Regions from separate parts of the Homo sapiens genome. Here all the other regions are linked to region 2. The links are contacts of gene promoters, found by promoter capture Hi-C in human tissues and cell types (Jung and others, 2019). All regions are on one chromosome and are shown on one strand. Each heading gives the region's core, a stretch centred on a gene start or on the middle of the fragment in contact. The rest is flanking DNA. Distances are from core to core; before and after follow the strand shown.

Region 1 (3,602 bases), core at 353-2,852, 180 kb after region 2:
ACTATAGGGATTATTTCCCAGATTCACTGTTAATAAACAAATCACCTAGAGGAGGGAGCAGAGAGTAGCATCTCCAAGCCTGTAGGTAAGACAAAGCTCTCCCAGAAAGAAGAATGCCAGGCCAATAAGCACAAAATAATTTAAATGGCAGTAGCTGATGAGCTCCAATAAGGGAAAATACAACCTGTTCTGCTATAACGTAGTTGTTGCTGTTGCTCTACATTACCAAAATAGAAGTTACAGACAACTGTTTCTATTGAAATAAGGAGTTAAGGATAAAAGGTTCCAGCCTGCAACAGCAAGGTTATTCTTCCTGCAGGAATTTCAGTTTAAAAAAACAGCAGTTTATGCCATGACAGGGATACTCTCAAAAAAACAAAAACCCAGCAGTTTAAATAGCTGTCAGTGTATTTTGTTACTGTGAACTAGAAATAAGAAAATGCTGACAGACATAATTCTAAATGCTTCCTTGTTAGTCCTTTAACCCAAGCACCCAAAGCCTTGGTCTCCTCCACCATCTTTGGCTTTACTTGCATTTTTGCTTTCAGCATAGTTTCCAACCACCAGTGCTAACAAAATAATGTGGTACTGTATTACACAAGCAGCTCTATCTACCTCTAAACATGCAAACCTTATTCCTGATTATAACTGATAGCAGTTAGTACAATATACTACATTCAATCTGTAATATGAAAACTCATGGCGTAGGAGAAATGCCTATATAAACTACTATATTAAAGTTTACTACATTAAAGCTACTATTTATAGTAACTATGAGGGGCTCCAAGTTACACTAAAATTTAGAAAAGGAACCTAAGGCTCACTGCAGAAAACACAAAAAAATGTCAGCTCCACGTATTGCTGCAACCGAAGAGGACAAGAGAGTGCAGGGCATTATCAAAATGGAAACAAGCAAGCCCAGAGTCAAGAAGGATAAAACGATGAAACTTTTCCCAAAAAAAGAAAAGGAAACAGAACAAGGGGCTTGGTTTTCCCAAGGCCTTCATCACTGAACCAGTGGAAAAAATAGCTGGAAAAAAAAATTACTTACAGGATCCAAACCTTCCTTCTCTAGTTTGGCTTTCTCCAAGTAGTAACTCCTCTCGGCCACGCTGAGAAGCCTCCAACTCTCACTAATCTTCTTATTGATCTCAGACTGAGGGAGGTGGGGGAGCTCCTGCTGCACTTTCAGGTAGATGTCGTAATAGTACAGAAGGTAAGCAGACCTGAGGAAGCAATGACTTCTTCAGGCTTTCCCAGTAATGGCAATGCTGGCAGAAATCCCTCCACTTCCCACTCCCCATCCCTCGACCCAGGACTTCATTCAACCAGTAAGTACTACTATGCTAAGATATGGGTAGTCAAGAGGTTGATAAAACCTAGCTTCTCATTTCTAAGCATTTATCTAAATAGGGACTGAAAGTCAAGCAAACAAACATTTAAATAACATCCTCAGATGGTGTTATAATAAGTTATAATCTTATTCCTGATTATAACTGATAGCTGTCAGTACAACACAAATTATATTACATTCAATTTGTAATATAAAAACTCATGGTATAGGAGAAATGCTTATATAAGCTACCATATTAAAGTTACTACATTAGAGCCACTATATTACAGTCAGGAGTAACTACCCAGGAAGATAAGGGGCTCCAAGGGAGGAGGGGAAAATGAATGGTAAAGATAGCAAGTGGCTGTTTCCCCTTCAGAAACCTGGAAGCAAAGGCTCATTTGACTGGCTTTCCTAAAGATCGCTTTTTGTGCAGGAATGATTTTAAAGCAAAGATAGATACAGGTGTCCTGTCCTGTCATTCCACTCTCAGGGAAAGCTTCCTCAAGGGGCTGGTTATCACTCACACTCCGTGCTCCTCTACGCAGCCTTTGGTCACCAACCTGGTCAATGGCACCTCCCCAAGGATGAGAGAGGGAAGCAAGCAGACCAATCAAAATGACCAATGCTGGTAGTTTCACAAGTTTGAGGTATTCACAGTCAAGAGTGAAGTTAGAGCTACAATTTGGATATTCTGTACAGATATAATTGGTATTATTTCTTTTTGTGTGTTTTTTTTCTTTTTCTTTTCTTTTTTTTTTTTTTTTGAGAGGAGTTTCGTTCTTGTTGGCCAAGCTGTAGTGCAATGGCACAATCTTGGCTCACCGCAACCTCCGCCTCCCAGATTCAAGTGATTCTCTTGCCTCAGCCTCCCAAGCAGCTGGGATTACAGGTGTGCGCCACCACGCCCGGCTAATTTTGTATTTTTAGTAGAGACGGGGTTTCTCCACGTTGGTCAGGCTGGTCTCGAACTCCTGACCTCAGGTGATCCACCCGTCTCAGCCTTCCAAACTGCTGGGATTACAGGCATGAGCCATCACGCCCAGCCTTATTTCTAATTTTGTAATTTTATTAATGCTTTGTTTTAAATGTTTAAATAACAACAATGGCATAATAATAAATAATGTAGCTCTTTTGTACCTAGCTTCTACCATCAGTATGGTACAATTTCCTGTGACAACTTGAAAACAAAAGCAAAGTCTGGCCAGTAATGGCAATGCTGGCAGAAATCCCTCCACTTCCCACTCCTCATCCCTCGACACAGGACTTCAATCATAACACTCTTTTTCAAAGAGTCTTAAAAGTTTTCCTCAATGCAGCTCTCCAAGCAACTTCTGTTTATAAATGCTAGCAGCAACCAAAATGTGTTGGCTAACCTGGGTTTCTTTGTCTTTTCTCCATGTATTTTATACTTTTTCTTCTTCTTGGGTGGCCCAGGAGAGGTGTAACAATAGGCTTCCTCAATTTCCTCCATCACGACAGTTACCTCAGTACCATCATATGATGCGTCCATGGCTAAAGGAAAGGAAAGTCAAAATAAAGTTTCCAGAATCTCCCCTAAGAGGGGCAGCAGCTTCCTGATCAAATAACCCCTTACCTCTGCCAGTGCCTTAAGGCTTAGACATTTCCCAAACCCAATATATCCTAAGAAGCACCTGGCTTGGTTGTTTAACACACAAGATTCCAGAGCTCCACTTCAGCCCTCCTGGAGCAGAATCTCCCGAGGGTATGGAAATCCACATGCTTAACAAATGCCTCAGGTGATTCCTCAGACCGGGCAAGTTTGTGACCACTGCCTTAGAAATACTTTTCACTTATATTCATGGGATACAGTACCCACCCACCCCTTTAACACAAAGATTTATTAGCCCCAAATTATAACAATTCTATATGGAAACAGGTTAAAAAAAAATGCTTGGCCAGGAATCAGAAGTTCTGGCCCATTCCTCCTATGTTTCATCAACTTAAGCAAATCCCTTCATTGATTCACTCAAACATGTAGTAAGGGCCTGTATGTAAAAGATTTCTTTATACTCTGCCAGCTTGTGCAATTTTGGTCAGGTCTTTTAGCTGCTTTTTGTTCAGCTTTCTCTCTCATGTATAAAAAAAGACATGTCTCAACTACCTTCCCACAGATTTATAGTGATAAGACTCAAAGGATACAATAGACACAACTCTATTTAAAAATAATTGGATGGGCGCAGTGACTCACGCCTATAATCTCAGCACTTTGGGAGGCTGAGATGGGAGGGTTGCTTGAGGCCAGGAG
Region 2 (3,351 bases), core at 415-2,914:
GGGCGCAGTGACTCACACCTGTAATCCCAGCACTTTGGGAGGCCGAGGCGGGCGGATCACGAGGTCAGAAGATCAAGACCATCCTGGCTAACACGGTGAAACCCCGTCTCTACTAAAAATACAAAACATTAGCCAGGCGTGGTGGCGGGCGCCTATAGTCCCAGCTACTCGGGAGGCTGAGGCAGGAGAATGGCGTGAACCCGGGAGGCAGAGCTTGCAGTGAGCCGAGATCACACCACTGCACTCCAACCTGGGTGACAGAGCGAGACTCCGTCTCAAAAAAAAAAAACAAGAAAAAGAAAAAAGACACACCACAGTGGTTCCAAGCCCAGCTGCCCCAGAGCAGAGAACTTGAATGAATGAGTGTGTGTGTGAGTGAGTGTGAGTGTGAATGTGTGTGTATGTAGGGAGGTTGATAACACCAGCCCCTGAGAACAGTCTTCTCACATCTACCAGCCCTTTAGCATTCTTCCCCACACCTCACACACCCAGTGGGGCCTGTTTTGGTGCCTCCAGGCTAGGGCTTAGCCAGAGGAGGTTCAGGTTAGAGAATGAACTTGTCCAAAGTCACCAGGCAAGTGGCAGCGGCAGAAATAGTATTCAGGAGATCTGACTCCTTAGTTAGGACTGGTACAAGCCAGAAAACGTCCCCCAGTATTCCCCCTCCCCATATCCTGACAGCTTGGCTGAGAGGTCCAATCCCACAAGGCAAGGTAGGGAGAGCCTGAGGTCTGGGCCCACAGCCACTCTCCCATACCAGCTTCCATCTTCATTGATCATATCCTCCTGCCTCCGATAGCCCCCTCCCTGTCTTTGCCTCCCTTCAGCCCTGCTGAGGGGCAGCCTGGGGTCTCAGCAGGCAAGCTAAGGGGGCGGGGAGGGAGCAGGCAGGAAAGAGGAGAGTCTTCCCGCAGGCTCAGGGAGCCGGCTTCAGTATGGATGACCGCCTCCCACTCCCCACCCCTCAGATGAGTCCAGCTCAACGCTCAGGTATTCCAATACCCCCCACACCCGGCAATCAGCTCCTGGCGGGGAGCAGCAGGGTGGAATTGGGGAAGAGGTGGGTGCCTGGCCCCGGCCGCCCCTACCCCGCGCCTCCGGGGACTGCAGACACCTGTTCATAGGCCTGGCCCAGTGAACCAGGACTCCCCTCATACTACATCCCGAACCCCAGATGGCAGGGGCAGAGGTGGGGGCGCAGACCGTGACCCTGACCCTCCCTGTTATCCAGCTGAGTCGGGCCTTCCCCAGAGCCCGAAGCTGGTCTGGGTGCATCCTCAGACCTTCCCCAGGGGCCTCGTTGGGGGCGGGTCTCTCCAACCCTCCTCCAGGTGCACCCCCAGCGCCCCCGCCCTCGTGCCCTACCTTGCGGAGGTGAGCTCCCTGGAGCTTCTTCATCTTGGAGAGCGGGTGGCCGGGGCTCAGCTGCCCCGGAGCGCAGAGAGCGAGGGCACGAGAGATGGTCCGCTGGCCACTGCGCCTTTGCCCCCGCGGCTCCCGCGCACCGGCTGGGGCGGGCACGGACGCAGGCGCTGCCGTCTGGCGGCTGCGGGCGTGGAGCGCGGGCAGGGCGCTGCGAATGCCTTGTCTGTCCCTGCGCAGCGCCCGAGGCTGGGGAAGGGTGCACTGCTGCGCCCGCATAGACACCCAGACAGACAGCTGACGGACGGACGGCGGGGGGATGCGCGCGCCCCCGCACGCAGAGCTGCGGATTGGAGAGCCCTGAGCGAGTGGGGAGGGGGGTTCGCGACGGAAACCCTCGGCTTTCTGCGTGACCTTGGGCAAGCGACCTGCCCTCTCTGGGACTCCCTTTCCACAGTTGGGCAAGGAACACTAACAGCCCACCCCCCTGCGTCGTCTTTGCTGTGCGACCTTAGGGGATAAGAATCTCTCCTCTCTTACAGGAGTGTGAGCAATTCAGGAAGATGGAGCATAGAAAACATCTAGCACAAAGAGCCTGACACATAGTAGGTGCTCAGTTAACATTTATTCACTGACTGTGGGTTGCCCACGCCACCATTAGTCCAATTATTCAATCTATCAGTATTTATTGAGCACCTAAAATGTGCCAGGTCCTGAACTAGGTGTCCTATTTTCTCAACCTGGAGAGACAGGTGTCGTTACTCCTATTCTACAGATGAGGAAGCTGAGGGACAGGGAAGTTAAGTTACTTACTCAAAGTCACGGGGCTAATGAGTGACACCAGGGACAGAGTCAGGCTTCATGGACCTTTAGGCTAGTAGAGTCTTCAACTCTCCTCCTTTCCTTAAGATGAAAGCAAAATGGGGAGGTTTGGGTGAGCAGAAGGGACAGGCAAGTGCCACAGTGTCACTGTGATCTGTGACTTAGATGATTAGTAACTGGTTTCCTGTCCAGCAGCAGTATGGCTTCTGGAAAGTTCTAATTTCATATCTGTAAAATGGGCCACGAGCCGCCCATGCATTGTTGCCTCAGAATGTTCTGAGGGTCCAGTGAGCCTGTGGCTAGGATGGGAAATGATGAGCTGGAGCAATGGCACACGTTGGTTTGCTGGGACTGACTGATAGACACTAGCGGATCAGTATATACATTACAAATTGTGTCCTTTTCACCCTCGCAAGTGTCCCAGTTTAGACATTAACCATACATCTGTTTGGCTCACTATCAGTTGACACGGTGGGAGGCCTTTGGGGAGAGATGAGAATAAGGTTCTGCTCTCTCCCACCTCTGGAGCTTGAAAAAAGGTTGGAGGGGTTTAAGTCAAAGCATGGACTTGGGTAAAGGCCTGGCCAGGCTCCAGTCCACCCCTTCCCCTGCCCAGGTCCTGTCAAACTTCTCTCCCCTTTGAGCCTGGCCACAAAGGGCAAACCAGGGGCTCTCCAGACCCAGGAGGAAGGTGTCTCCTCTGCCCCCTGCCTGCTGACCCATATGGGGCCAAGAGTGGCTGTGAGTGTGAAGAGAAGGAGCATTTATGGAGCCCTACTGTGTGCATTATGAAGGATTTTTGCATCCAACATCTAATTTTTAATTCTTTCCAACTGTCTGGGAAGACATGTTTGTGCATCTCATTTTACACCTGTGGAAACTGTCCCAGAGGAGTGAAGTCATGCACTGGGCGTTGGGGATGAAGCCAGGAAAGCTGTGGGTCATGGCTGGGAAAGGCAGAAGCCAAGGGCTCCTGAATCCAAGGAGGCCCAGGCAGGAAACTTCCCCATCCCTCACCCAAGGCTTGTCAATGCATCTTGTACAAAAGAGGCTCAACCTTGCTCAACCACTCCCTCCCATTGGCACTTGGGTTTCATGAGACCCTTTGGAAGGCACAGAGGGCCACAGGGACAGCGAGCAGGGATGAGGCAGTTGGCTCAGGAGCCA
Region 3 (3,685 bases), core at 1,061-3,560, 180 kb before region 2:
AGTTGCCTGGAATTCAAATGGCTTCTTAGTGGAGAGGTGGCTGAACCATGCCACCTGGGCCCCGTTAGATATCGATATTCACTGATTCTCAGTGCTTATTTATTTACTGGGACAGAGTCCTGCTCTGTCGCCCAGGCTGGAGTGCAGTGGCACAATCTCGGCTCACTGCAAGCTCCGCCTCCTGGGTTCACACTATTCTCCTGCCTCAGCCTCCTGAGTAGCTGGGACTACAGACGTCCACCACCATGCCTGGCTAATTTTTTGTATTTTTAATAGAGACGGGGTTTCACCGTGTTAGCTAGGATGGTCTTGATCTCCTGACCTCGTGATCTGCCCACCTCGGCCTCCCAAAGTGCTGGGATTACAGGCATGAGCCACCGCACCCAGCTTCTCAGTGCTTTTATACCAGGGTATTGTCTCCTTAAATCTCAGATTTCTTTTTGTTAAGAAGAATGTTGGGCCGGGCGCGGTGGCCTCACGCCTGTAATCCCAGCACTTTGGGAGGCCGAGGCGGGTGGATCATGAGGTCAGGAGATCGAGACCATCCTGGCTAACAAGGTGAAACCCCGTCTCTACTAAAAATACAAAAAATTAGCCGGGCGCGGTGGCGGGCGCCTGTAGTCCCAGCTACTCGGGAGGCTGAGGCAGGAGAATGGCGTGAACCCGGGAAGCGGAGCTTGCAGTGAGCCGAGATTGCGCCACTGCAGTCCGCAGTCCGACCTGGGCGACAGAGCGAGACTCCGTCTCAAAAAAAAAAAAAAAAAAAAAAAAAAGAAGAATGTTGCTGAGATGAATGGCATGATCTAATTCTTTTCCTGGCACTTCACTCCATCTCTCTCTTTCTGTAATTATGGAAAATTTTTAAGTAGTAAATAGAAAGGAAGAACCAGGCAGCTCCAACCATTAACAACTTGTGACCAATCTTTTCATCTCATGTATTATCTCACTCACCCTTCCCCATCAAGCATTACTTTGAAGAAAATGCCATAGATCCTACCACGTTGCCCACAAATACTTCAGCATGTTTCTCTCTCAATGAGGATGCGTTTTTAAATTTTTTTTGAGACAGGGTCTTGCTCTGCTGCCCAGGCTGGAGTACAGTGGCACATTCATAGCTCACTGCAACCTCCAATGCCTGGACTCACATGATTCTCCTATCTCAGCCTCCTGAGTAGCTGGGACCACCAGTGCATGCCACCATGCCCAGCTAATTTTCTTATTTTTTGCAGAGACGGAGTCTCACTATGTTGCCCAGGATGCCAACGAGGACTCTTCTTCCTTTTTTTTTTTTTTTTGAGACAGTCTTGCTCTGTTGCCCAGGCTGGAGTGCAGGCACAGTCATGGCTCACTGTAGCCTTGACCTCCTGGGCTCAAGTAATCCTCCCACCTCAGGCCTCCTAGGCAGCTGAAACTACAAGCACACGCCACCATGCCTGGCTAAATTTTAAATTTTTTGTAGATACAGGGTTTTGCCATGTTGCCCAGGCGGGTCTCCAACTCCTGGGCTCAAGTGATCCTTCTACCTTGACCTCCCAAAGTGCTGGGATTACCGGTGGGTGTGAGCCACCATGCCCAACCCAGTGAAGACTTTTAAAAAAATAAAATTACATACCCGGAGGCTGAGGCAGGAGGATCACTTGAGGCCAGGAGTTCAAGGCCAGTCTAGGCAACATGGCAAGACCTCATATCAAAAAAAGCCCCAAACAAACAAACAAAAAAATGTAATTACACCTCCATTATCACAGCTTATAAAATTGATTAATACCAAATAGCCAATCAGTAAGAAATTTTACCATTTGTGTTTCAAATAGCATGCAGGTCTGTATATATGCATGTAAGAATACATGTTTGAATGAATATAGAGGCAAAGGAGGAAGTTTTAAAGGTTACCTATGAGGAGATGCACTTAGGAATGATAGGGAACAGGGTAGGACAACAAAAAACCTTTAAGTTTTCTTCTATATGCTCTTCTACAGTTCAAAGTGAACTCGTTTTGCATTTATAATGTAAAATTAAGCGATATATAATATATATCCAGGGCGCAGTGGCTCATGCCTGTAATCCCAGCCCTTTTGGAGGCCAAGGTGGGCGGATCACCTGAGACTAGTCTGGCTAACATTGTGAAACCCCGTCTCTATTAAAAAAAAAAAAAAAAAAAAGAAAGAAAAAGAAAACCCACAAAATTAGCTGACAGTAGTGGTGCATGCCTGTAGTCCCAGCTACTCGGGAGGCTGAGGCAGGAGAATCACTTGAACCCAGGAGGCGGGGGTTGCCCTGAGCTGACATCACGCCATTGTGCTCCAGCCTGGGTGACAAGAGTGAAACCCCGTCTCAAAAAAATAATAAAATATATACCTAGTATGATCTCAAACACTTTAAAAGCAGACTCAGGAAGCTGGGCATGGTGGTATGTGCATGGAATTCCACCTACTCAAGAGGCTAAGGCAGGAGGATCACTTGAGCTCAGGAGTTCAAGACCAGCCTGGACAACATGGCAAGACTTTGTCTTGAAAAATAAAAAATAAGTATTAAGAAATGTGTCTTCTATGTAAGCAAAAGAAGATAATACGATGCAAAGGAGACACAGCAATTCCTCTGTAGAGTTATGGCTGCTGTTGGGGAAAGTACAAGGAGCCCTGGGACCTTAGGAGAAGAAGGGGCTATAAAAGCTTTGACTGAGTTACTCCTGCAAACGGTGTAAAACCAGTGCCCAGTACAGCGTTCCAGTGCTAATGGGTACAATTCTAAATGAACATGAAGATCAGCAATTCCTAAAGCATCCCACAGGTCACACAGAAAATGTGTCCGCTAGCTGCTTTCTGAAATCCCTCCAGCAGTACTTCTGAACGTGTGTCTTCTTTCCAGCTAATAAGAATCACCTGGGAGCCTGTAATAGGGCAGCTCCTGGGCCCCATACACCAAATGAGACTGGAAGGGCCCATCTGGTTGTTTTGGTTCGGCCTTGCACCCCCAGAGCATGGAGATATAATGCCTGGCACGGAGGAAGGGCTCAAATACTGCCAAAGATATGTGGTGCCCTCCCAATCTCCTCCCCAGGGTCTTTTAGGTCTTCTAGTGATAAGAGAAGAAGCTGGAGGTAGACTCTACCCTAGAACAATCAATATTCCATAGCCTGTTCCCAAAGCTGCAAGGCTCTTACTGGCTTTGGCGGTTTCGGCTTCTGCTTCTTCCTCCTCTTCCGAGCTCTCCGAGGTGCTGATGGGGTCTGACACACGGGTTTTCTTAGCTTGCAGTGCCGCATCTTCCTCTGCCTTCCGCTTCCGACCAAGCTCTGAGGTTCTGCAGGACAAGGGTGACTGTCTATACCAACTGGGTGACAGAACAACTCCACAAGAATTGACTAGACAGACCTTCCCGCATCCTTCCAGCTCTTAAAGGCAATGTGCATAGAATCTAAACAGTGGTGAAAACACAGTATAGGCACAATTTTGTATTCTGCATTTTCACTCACTTCATAAAGTGCTTTTACAATTCTTGATTAGTCTTTAAAATAATCAGGAATGCTGGATAATGTTATATAACAGCTGCAGCAGCTACCAGTCTTTAAGTGATAGGAGCTGACCCATGCAGGCACCTCACAGAACCGCCCAGGCTCTTCCCCCTGCAGAACATGCTGTGTGTACTGTGCCTTCTTGGAAGACTCTGCCCAGGTCCTCGTCCTTCC

The links. Contacts are between HindIII fragments. The study calls those that stand out against the background at their distance.
Region 1: a fragment that was not itself captured here is called in contact with the fragment with the promoter of SLC6A7 in region 2 in 3 of the 25 tissues and cell types used here (H1 embryonic stem cells, aorta and pancreas).
Region 3: a fragment that was not itself captured here is called in contact with the fragment with the promoter of SLC6A7 in region 2 in 2 of the 25 tissues and cell types used here (IMR-90 fibroblasts and mesenchymal stem cells).

Annotation. Positions count from the first base shown.
Region 1 is chr5:150,004,097-150,007,698 of GRCh38, reverse strand. HMGXB3 (HMG-box containing 3) reads right to left here. Exons shown (of 20, transcript NM_014983.3): 2 at 2,710-2,848; 3 at 1,052-1,226. The coding sequence starts at 2,846. Among named protein-coding and RNA genes, the nearest start is that of HMGXB3, 5.2 kb to the right of the region's middle. The HindIII fragment of the contact is 4,061 bases long and covers 1-3,602 here.
Region 2 is chr5:150,188,375-150,191,725 of GRCh38, reverse strand. SLC6A7 (solute carrier family 6 member 7) reads right to left here and starts at 1,664. Exons shown (of 14, transcript NM_014228.5): 1 at 1,366-1,664. The coding sequence starts at 1,398. The HindIII fragment of the contact is 16,922 bases long and covers 1-3,351 here.
Region 3 is chr5:150,363,728-150,367,412 of GRCh38, reverse strand. TCOF1 (treacle ribosome biogenesis factor 1) reads right to left here. Exons shown (of 27, transcript NM_001371623.1): 3 at 3,161-3,300. Among named protein-coding and RNA genes, the nearest start is that of TCOF1, 7.9 kb to the right of the region's middle. The HindIII fragment of the contact is 7,992 bases long and covers 1-3,685 here.